Regions from separate parts of the Homo sapiens genome. Here region 2 is linked to region 1. The links are contacts of gene promoters, found by promoter capture Hi-C in blood cells and fetal thymus (Javierre and others, 2016). All regions are on one chromosome and are shown on one strand. Each heading gives the region's core, a stretch centred on a gene start or on the middle of the fragment in contact. The rest is flanking DNA. Distances are from core to core; before and after follow the strand shown.

Region 1 (3,385 bases), core at 333-2,832:
CTATGACATGCCTAAGTCTTTGCAGTCCTCAAAAGGTGACCAACCATTCGTAGAAGGAAGGGTCCTTAGGGTCTCTGGCCCCATCACTTCATGTGATAGGCAATGCCTTCTCACCCTTTCCTACTCTGCTGATCTCATTTAAGAGAATGGGAGGCCAGAAGAAGCAAACACAGCTTCCCAGAGGGACAGGAATAAATTCCAGCTGGCTAAATTCCAGTTTGCACATGGAGAGCTTCCTGATGGTAGATGGGTGCACAAGGTGGGTGGGAGCTGCAGCACCATTCAGGACAGCGTTTCCCACAGCAGTGCAGTCTGTCGCAGGAGTGGCAACTCGTAAAGCGGGGGTTGGCCTTGCTCTGGCCTCAGGCTTAGTGATTTGCTACTGCAAACCTGCACAACGGGGAGTCCCTGCACCACCACTGGCCAGAGAGTTCTGGCTTTCTGACCATGGGACTGCAGCCCAAGGCATGGCAGGTGTCCAGCCAGCAATCCAGAGAGATGCAGCCCAAGAACCACTTAGAACCCTTTGGACAATTTTAGGGCTGCTCCCTAAATTACTCTTCCCAACCAAGGTAGGCCAAAAAAAAATTGCTGGTTCCTGGAAATGACCAAAACTGTCCTCCAATTGAGTCAGCTAGGACAGCAGAGAAAGCTTTCAGAGGGGTAGACTTGCAAGCTCATCTAAACCAACTCCTTCAAAACAGACTCCAAATATTTCACCCTACAAGGGATGGGGAACTCTGGAAGACTGGCATCAGCCGATATGGCTGAACAGACTGCAGGTTTGGAATCCAAATGTGTCTACAAATGTTCACTGATTGATTGTCATTTTGTTCTCCCCACATTTTAGTTTTGCTCATTTTACAGCCCACAGCCTGTCTTGTGGAATAAATGATACAAGCAATTGAAGAAGGCACACTGTGCACCAAGGGGACGACTCAGGCAATCTGCAGCGGTGGTCCAGGGCTACTCAGCTCAGCCTCAGTCACCTGCAATGAAAACCACCTCTTGCCATCAGAGTCAATGATATAGATGGGACACTTAAAAACCAAAACAGGTTCATATTCTCTGGTTTGTAGGAAAGAATTCATATCTTCACAGCAAAAATAAAAAAGGAGGGGGCATGTTTTTAATATCAAACTGGCCATCAAAGTGTTCACTGACCTTTAATAACTGATCTTTTCATTTTGAAATATAGGGTTCAATAAGGATGGTCCAGAAATCACTTTTATTTTACTCAAGGGCTGTGAGGCCTCTACCTTAGGAGTCTCAGTTCTGGTGAGAGCAGTGTTTTGGGAGGCATTGTGTGAGACACACCAGTTGGAGCAAAGTTCCCAAAGGCCAAGGGGGCCTATCACAGTCACCTTGTGCTACCAAAGCACTGAGCAGCCAAGCCCCTAAGCAGAACAGCAGGGGAGAGACCCAACAAGCCAGTGTCCCTAGAGCTCTAGGCCATTACCCCCTGTGCTGTGTTCTGAGATGAGTCTGCTCTCCCACTGCTTCCCCAGGGAAACAATGCCCTAGTGTGGTCTCACAGCCTTCTAGGAATCAGCGGAGGACTTCCATTGAAAATAATGGAAATTCACATTGGCGTACTTTCGATCCTTAAAAGGCAAGTCTCTTTTGATCCTTGAAGATATTCTCTCAAGCCAGGGGGGCAGGTAGGGTGGGGAGGAGAGAAGTTTAAAAAGGAGGATGATCCATTTCATCGAGCCAAGAGCCTGGGCTAGTTGGAAAGTCGGGATAGCCTACACTGCTTCCTGTGGAGATGTCAGAGGTGGGTCCCCCAGCCATGGCTCTCAGCGTCTGGCTTACTCCCTGCCCTGCATGCGCAATGATGCCCAAATTACTGTCCACCGTGTAATCCAGCCCATTGAGCAAAGGAGCGTGGGATGGCAGGGACGATATGGAGGATGGAGACTGGGGGATTCCATAGGGGCTCCCATCCCTCAAGTCCTGATAGGATTGTCCTGTCCCGTCCATGGAGAAGCTCCCATTCATTAACTGTCCGCCTGTAACGTCCCCCACGTTGCCATAAATCCTATTGGTGTGGCCAAGTTCTGAGAGAATTTGATCCTCTGTGGACAAAAGAACGGAGATTTATTGTCAGCTGCCAGGACTCTGATGGTCCCCTGCTCTTCACAACCTAGGAACACACATGACCAGGAAAGATGCCCAAGGATGGCAGCTGCCTTGCAGCCAAGCATGGGTCAGACACACCAATATGGCAGCCTGATATCCAGAGGCCAACCCAGGCCAAGGAGAAAAACAAGAAACACCTGCAAAGACTAAATTCCCAGGTCCCAGAAGGATGGACAAATGTTTGGTGAGCTCGTTGGTCCCTTGTGGCTCGTGTACTAATACTCTGGCTACACTGAGGAGGATGAATGCCTAAGGCTGGGTGGGTCAGATGTCTCCACATCACAAATGGAAACTACATGCTGACAACATTTACCCTGAAAGCTTTCAAGCTGAGAAAGGGCTTGGTTTAGTTGATTGGGAAGCAAGCAGGCCCATATGGTCAGGGAAGCTGAGGACCACTCTTAGACATCTGTACAAAATCCTTCTGGTCTATCTGGAAGAGAGGTTCAATATCAAAGGACTTGGTTTCTGTCTGTATTCAATAAGCTCTTCACTGGGGACAAAGAATTGACTTGATTAAGGCAAATGAACCTTCTTTTTTCTTAAAGAATTTCATTAAGGGGATCTAATGGAATCTTTGCCACTTGAAAGAATTTCTCTCTCCAACAGAGGTGAGCAGTTTTAGTCTTTGAGAAATTATTCCCAGAGAAACCAATGATAGGTCAGCCCAGGGACCCACCTGCACCCAACAGAAATGAGCTTAACAATCCAGTATGTTCTAGGTGTTGACTTCAACAGCCCAGATGAGATTGACTTTCCCAATCCTGCCAAGAAGCCTAAAAGGTGAGTATTAGTCCCATGAGCTGTCCCCAAGGCCTCACGGGCCCTGTGTTCTCAGAGGAGGCTGCCCTCTAGGGCTCAGCTGACCTCTGGGCTGAACTAGAGTCCTCCCAGGGCATCGTTGTCCTGGCAGGCAACTTGTTCCATCCTCTGTCCCACAAACTTCCTTTTCTATTTCCACCTGGGCCTCTGCACCAATCCCTAAATAAGGCCTCCCCAGACTAGACTTCAACACCCCATCCCTTCTGAGGCCTGCCCCCCATTCCCCTTATGAAAAAACATGGTGGGGGGAGCTCATGCTCTTTAAAGGGAGCAGGAAGATGAAGGCTCCACTCCATTGTCAAATGGCCATGAGTTAGCCTTTTCCCTATACCTGTCATCCCAAATGACCAGGGCCCTCTGCGGGAGCCACACGCTCCCTGTGGGAACGATCATGCCTTCCAGGTATACAAATGTGCCAGGC
Region 2 (3,385 bases), core at 304-2,803, 200 kb before region 1:
TGTAATCCCAGCTACTTGGGAGGCTGAGGCAGGAGAATTGCTTGAACCTGGGAGGCAGAGGTTGCAGTGAGCCGAGATTGTGCCATTGCACTCCAGCCTGGGCGACACAGCATGACTCCGTCTCAAAAAAAAAAAAAAAGAGAGATTTATAGAGCGGGAAAATTTTGCTTCAGGAACGAGGCAGAAAGTCCAAAATTCCTTGTCTAGGTTGTATTGTTCTAAGTATTATAAATTGAATTGTTGTTTAATTCAGTGGACTATAGAGGGCAGTGTTTCACAGTTTAAAGTTACTGATTTTTCTGTGAAACTAAATACACTTCAATTATGCTTATTTTGTGTATTTCTCTAATAGACACACAATAAAAACTATAAGATTAGAAATTATTTTTTAGCTGTACTTAATAAATAAAAATACATTTTAATGTAAAATTATAATAATTTCAATAAAGATAATCTTATTATCTTTACATCCCAAAATGATGTACTTTTGGGATAATAGATTAGAATTAAAAATGACTTTGTTTTCTTATTCAATCCATGTAAGTTAAGAAAAATAAGCATCATATGGTGATCTAAATTTATTAGAAAATTTAGAGAAAATTAGTATCCTGTGCAACTAAAATTTTCTTTTGCAAAAGAATTTTTTTTTTTTAAAGAGATGGAGTCTCACTATGTTGCCTAGGCTAGACCTGAACTCCTGGGCTCAAGTTATCCTCCTGCCTCATCCTTCCAAGTAGCTGGGACTACAGGTGCACACTGCCTTGCCCAGCTTGCAGAAGACTTTTTTAAGACTTCTTATTTGTGCATTAGAGCAGAATAAGCTTTTTGCAGATACAACAGTTACACATTTTAGTAGATTAATTGAATTATGATGTTAAAGCTATAGCTAAAAGAAATAATCTAGAAATAGTTTCTTTCCTGATTTTAATAAAACATTTCTGACTTATTTTAGTAAAAAAGTAACCTGTGTGTATTAGTTGGGAATTAAGAACTAGAACTGCATTTTATCTGTTTTTTAAATTATAAGGAGATTATTTTTTCTACTGAAAAAAAAATTCGTTCTAATGATAAACTCTATTATGACATGTTTTGTTACTAGGAACAGAGATTGATTATATTTTGGGCCAAATTTATTAACCTCCATATAGAGGTAATTTTCAGTACAGAAAAGCATGGTGTGTTATTAAAAACATTTAATGGTCTATCCTACTGACTTTATAAAGAGTTATGCAATATTTAGGAACTGTAGGATTCTTAATGCTTGTGTGTATGCTCTTATATGTGTGTATGTGTTTGTTAGTGGTCCCTGTTTGTGGTTTAAAAATGTATAGCAGTCCTCCCTGATCTATAGTTTTGCTTTCTGAGGGGTTTCAGTCACCTGAGGTCAACGGTGGTCCAAAAATATTAAGTGGAAAATTCCAGAAGTAACCAATTGATAAGTTTTAAATTGCATGCCCTGTTGTGATAAAATCTCTCCTGTCCCACTCCATACATCCCTTTGTCAAGATGTATCCATTACCTGTTCCTGTATAGGAAAAAACATAGTGTATATAGGGCTCTGTAGTGTCTACAGTTTCAGGCATCTACTAGGGGTCTTAGAATACATACCCCATGGATAAGGGGGTATAATGTTATACAAAGCATTATATTGTGTAATGTTTTGGTTAGCTTCAGAGGGGAACTGGTTAATAGATATATAATCTGATATATTCATTGGATATTTTCACATTTCTTCCATCCATGTACTTGTGTTGTTTTTGAGTTTTCTTGTTTTTTTTGTTTGTTTTTGTTTTTTGTGCTTTTTTTGAGACAGAGTCTCACTCTGTTGCCCAGGCTGAGCGCAATGGCATGATCTCAGCTCACTGCAACCTCTGTCTCCCGGGTTCAAGCAATTCTCCTGCCTCAGCCTCCCGAGTAGCTGGGATTACAGGTGCCCGCCACCACGCCCGGCTCATTTTTGTATTTTTCGTAGAGACGGGGTTTCACCATGTTGACCAGGCTGGTCTCAAACTCCCGACCTCAGGTGATCCGCCTGCCTTGGCCTTCCAAAGTGCTGGGATTATAGGCGTGAGCCACTGTGCCCGGCTGAGTTTTCTTGTTTTATTTGCCAATTGTACTTTTAAATTTTCTTTTGTGATACTTGTCAGTTGAGGAAAAGAAGCATTGTATTAGCCTATATGTGTGCATAGGCAAAAACCTTTGAGTGACAACTTCATTCTTTTTTTAAAAAAAAAAAATTTAACCCATTTATGCCTAGTGTTCCATTATTGGAATGCAAAGCTTGTGGGAGTTATTTACATCCTACTGCTCAAGGTCATTGCCAAGGTCTGATTTTCACAAAAAAAATTTTCAACCTCCGGCATAAATGAGTTAATAATATAACTTAAACAGAACGTGTGAATGCTTTTTGGCTTCACATTCCATCTTTAAATAACACCATAGTTTTGCATCAGAGATCTCAAATGATTTTACCTGGGGATAAACTTCTAGTCTTTTCATTGGTATTGGTGGGATTGGGTTGCATTGGAACCAGATTCAGATTTTGGTATGTGATAGTTGTTTGTTTTGCTATTTTCCCCTAGCCATAATATATACCTGAGTGCCTAGACATGATAAATGTTATCTTCCAGTTGTCCCGTTTTTCCTTAGGTTGAATTTTAATATATTCAATAACAAATTTAGTGAAACTCTTAATAATCCATGTTGTTGATTTAAGTAAAAGGGAAAATGAAAAGTGCCCCACCAACTCTTTCTAGGTGTTATAGCATTTTCCATCATATGGTAAACACTAGGTCATTTTACTTTATTTTTTTACATGAATGTTCATAGTCGCTTTATTTATAATAACCCCAAACTGGAAACCAAAATTTCCATCAACAGGAGAAGGCTAAACAAATTATGGTGTATCTACAGAATGGAATACTAAATAGGACCAAACTATTGGTATACATAACATGGTGGCTCATGCCTGTAATCCCAGCACTTCGGGAGGCCAGGATGGGAGGACTGCTTGAGCATAAGAGTTCAAGACCAGCCTGGGCAATACAGCAAGACCTCATCTCTACAAAAATAAAAAATTAGCTGAGTGTGGTGGTTTACACCTGTGGTCCCAGTTACTCAGGAGGTTGAGATGGGAGGATCGCTTGAGCCCAGGAGGTTGAGGCTATAGTGAACTCTGATCATGCCATGGCACTCCAGCCTGGGCCACAGAGTGGGACCCCATGTCAAAAATAAATAAATAAATAAAATTCTAGAAAATGCAAACTACAGTGACAGAAACCAGATCAGTGGTTGCCCGGGGATACAAAGTAGGAATAAACAGCAGGGATTACAAAAGGGACACAAGGAAACTTTCCGAGATGGTGGATATATATGTTCATCATCT

The links. Contacts are between HindIII fragments. The CHiCAGO score rates a contact against its expected background, and 5 or more counts as called.
Region 2: a fragment that was not itself captured here is called in contact with the fragment with the promoter of LHX4-AS1 in region 1 in 7 of 17 cell types (endothelial precursors, monocytes, M2 macrophages and 4 more); the score reaches 9.0 in endothelial precursors.

The regions. Positions count from the first base shown.
Region 1 is chr1:180,272,878-180,276,262 of GRCh38, reverse strand. LHX4-AS1 (LHX4 antisense RNA 1) reads left to right here and starts at 1,582. Exons shown (of 5, transcript NR_037642.1): 1 at 1,582-1,612; 2 at 2,151-2,326; 3 at 2,865-2,925. It overlaps LHX4 (LIM homeobox 4), which reads right to left. Exons shown (of 6, transcript NM_033343.4): 6 at 1-2,078. The coding sequence ends at 1,684. It also overlaps a transcript of ACBD6 not described here. The HindIII fragment of the contact is 1,811 bases long and covers 655-2,465 here.
Region 2 is chr1:180,475,246-180,478,630 of GRCh38, reverse strand. All of the region lies in intron 3 of ACBD6 (acyl-CoA binding domain containing 6), which reads left to right. Among named protein-coding and RNA genes, the nearest start is that of ACBD6, 26 kb to the left of the region's middle. The HindIII fragment of the contact is 1,459 bases long and covers 824-2,282 here.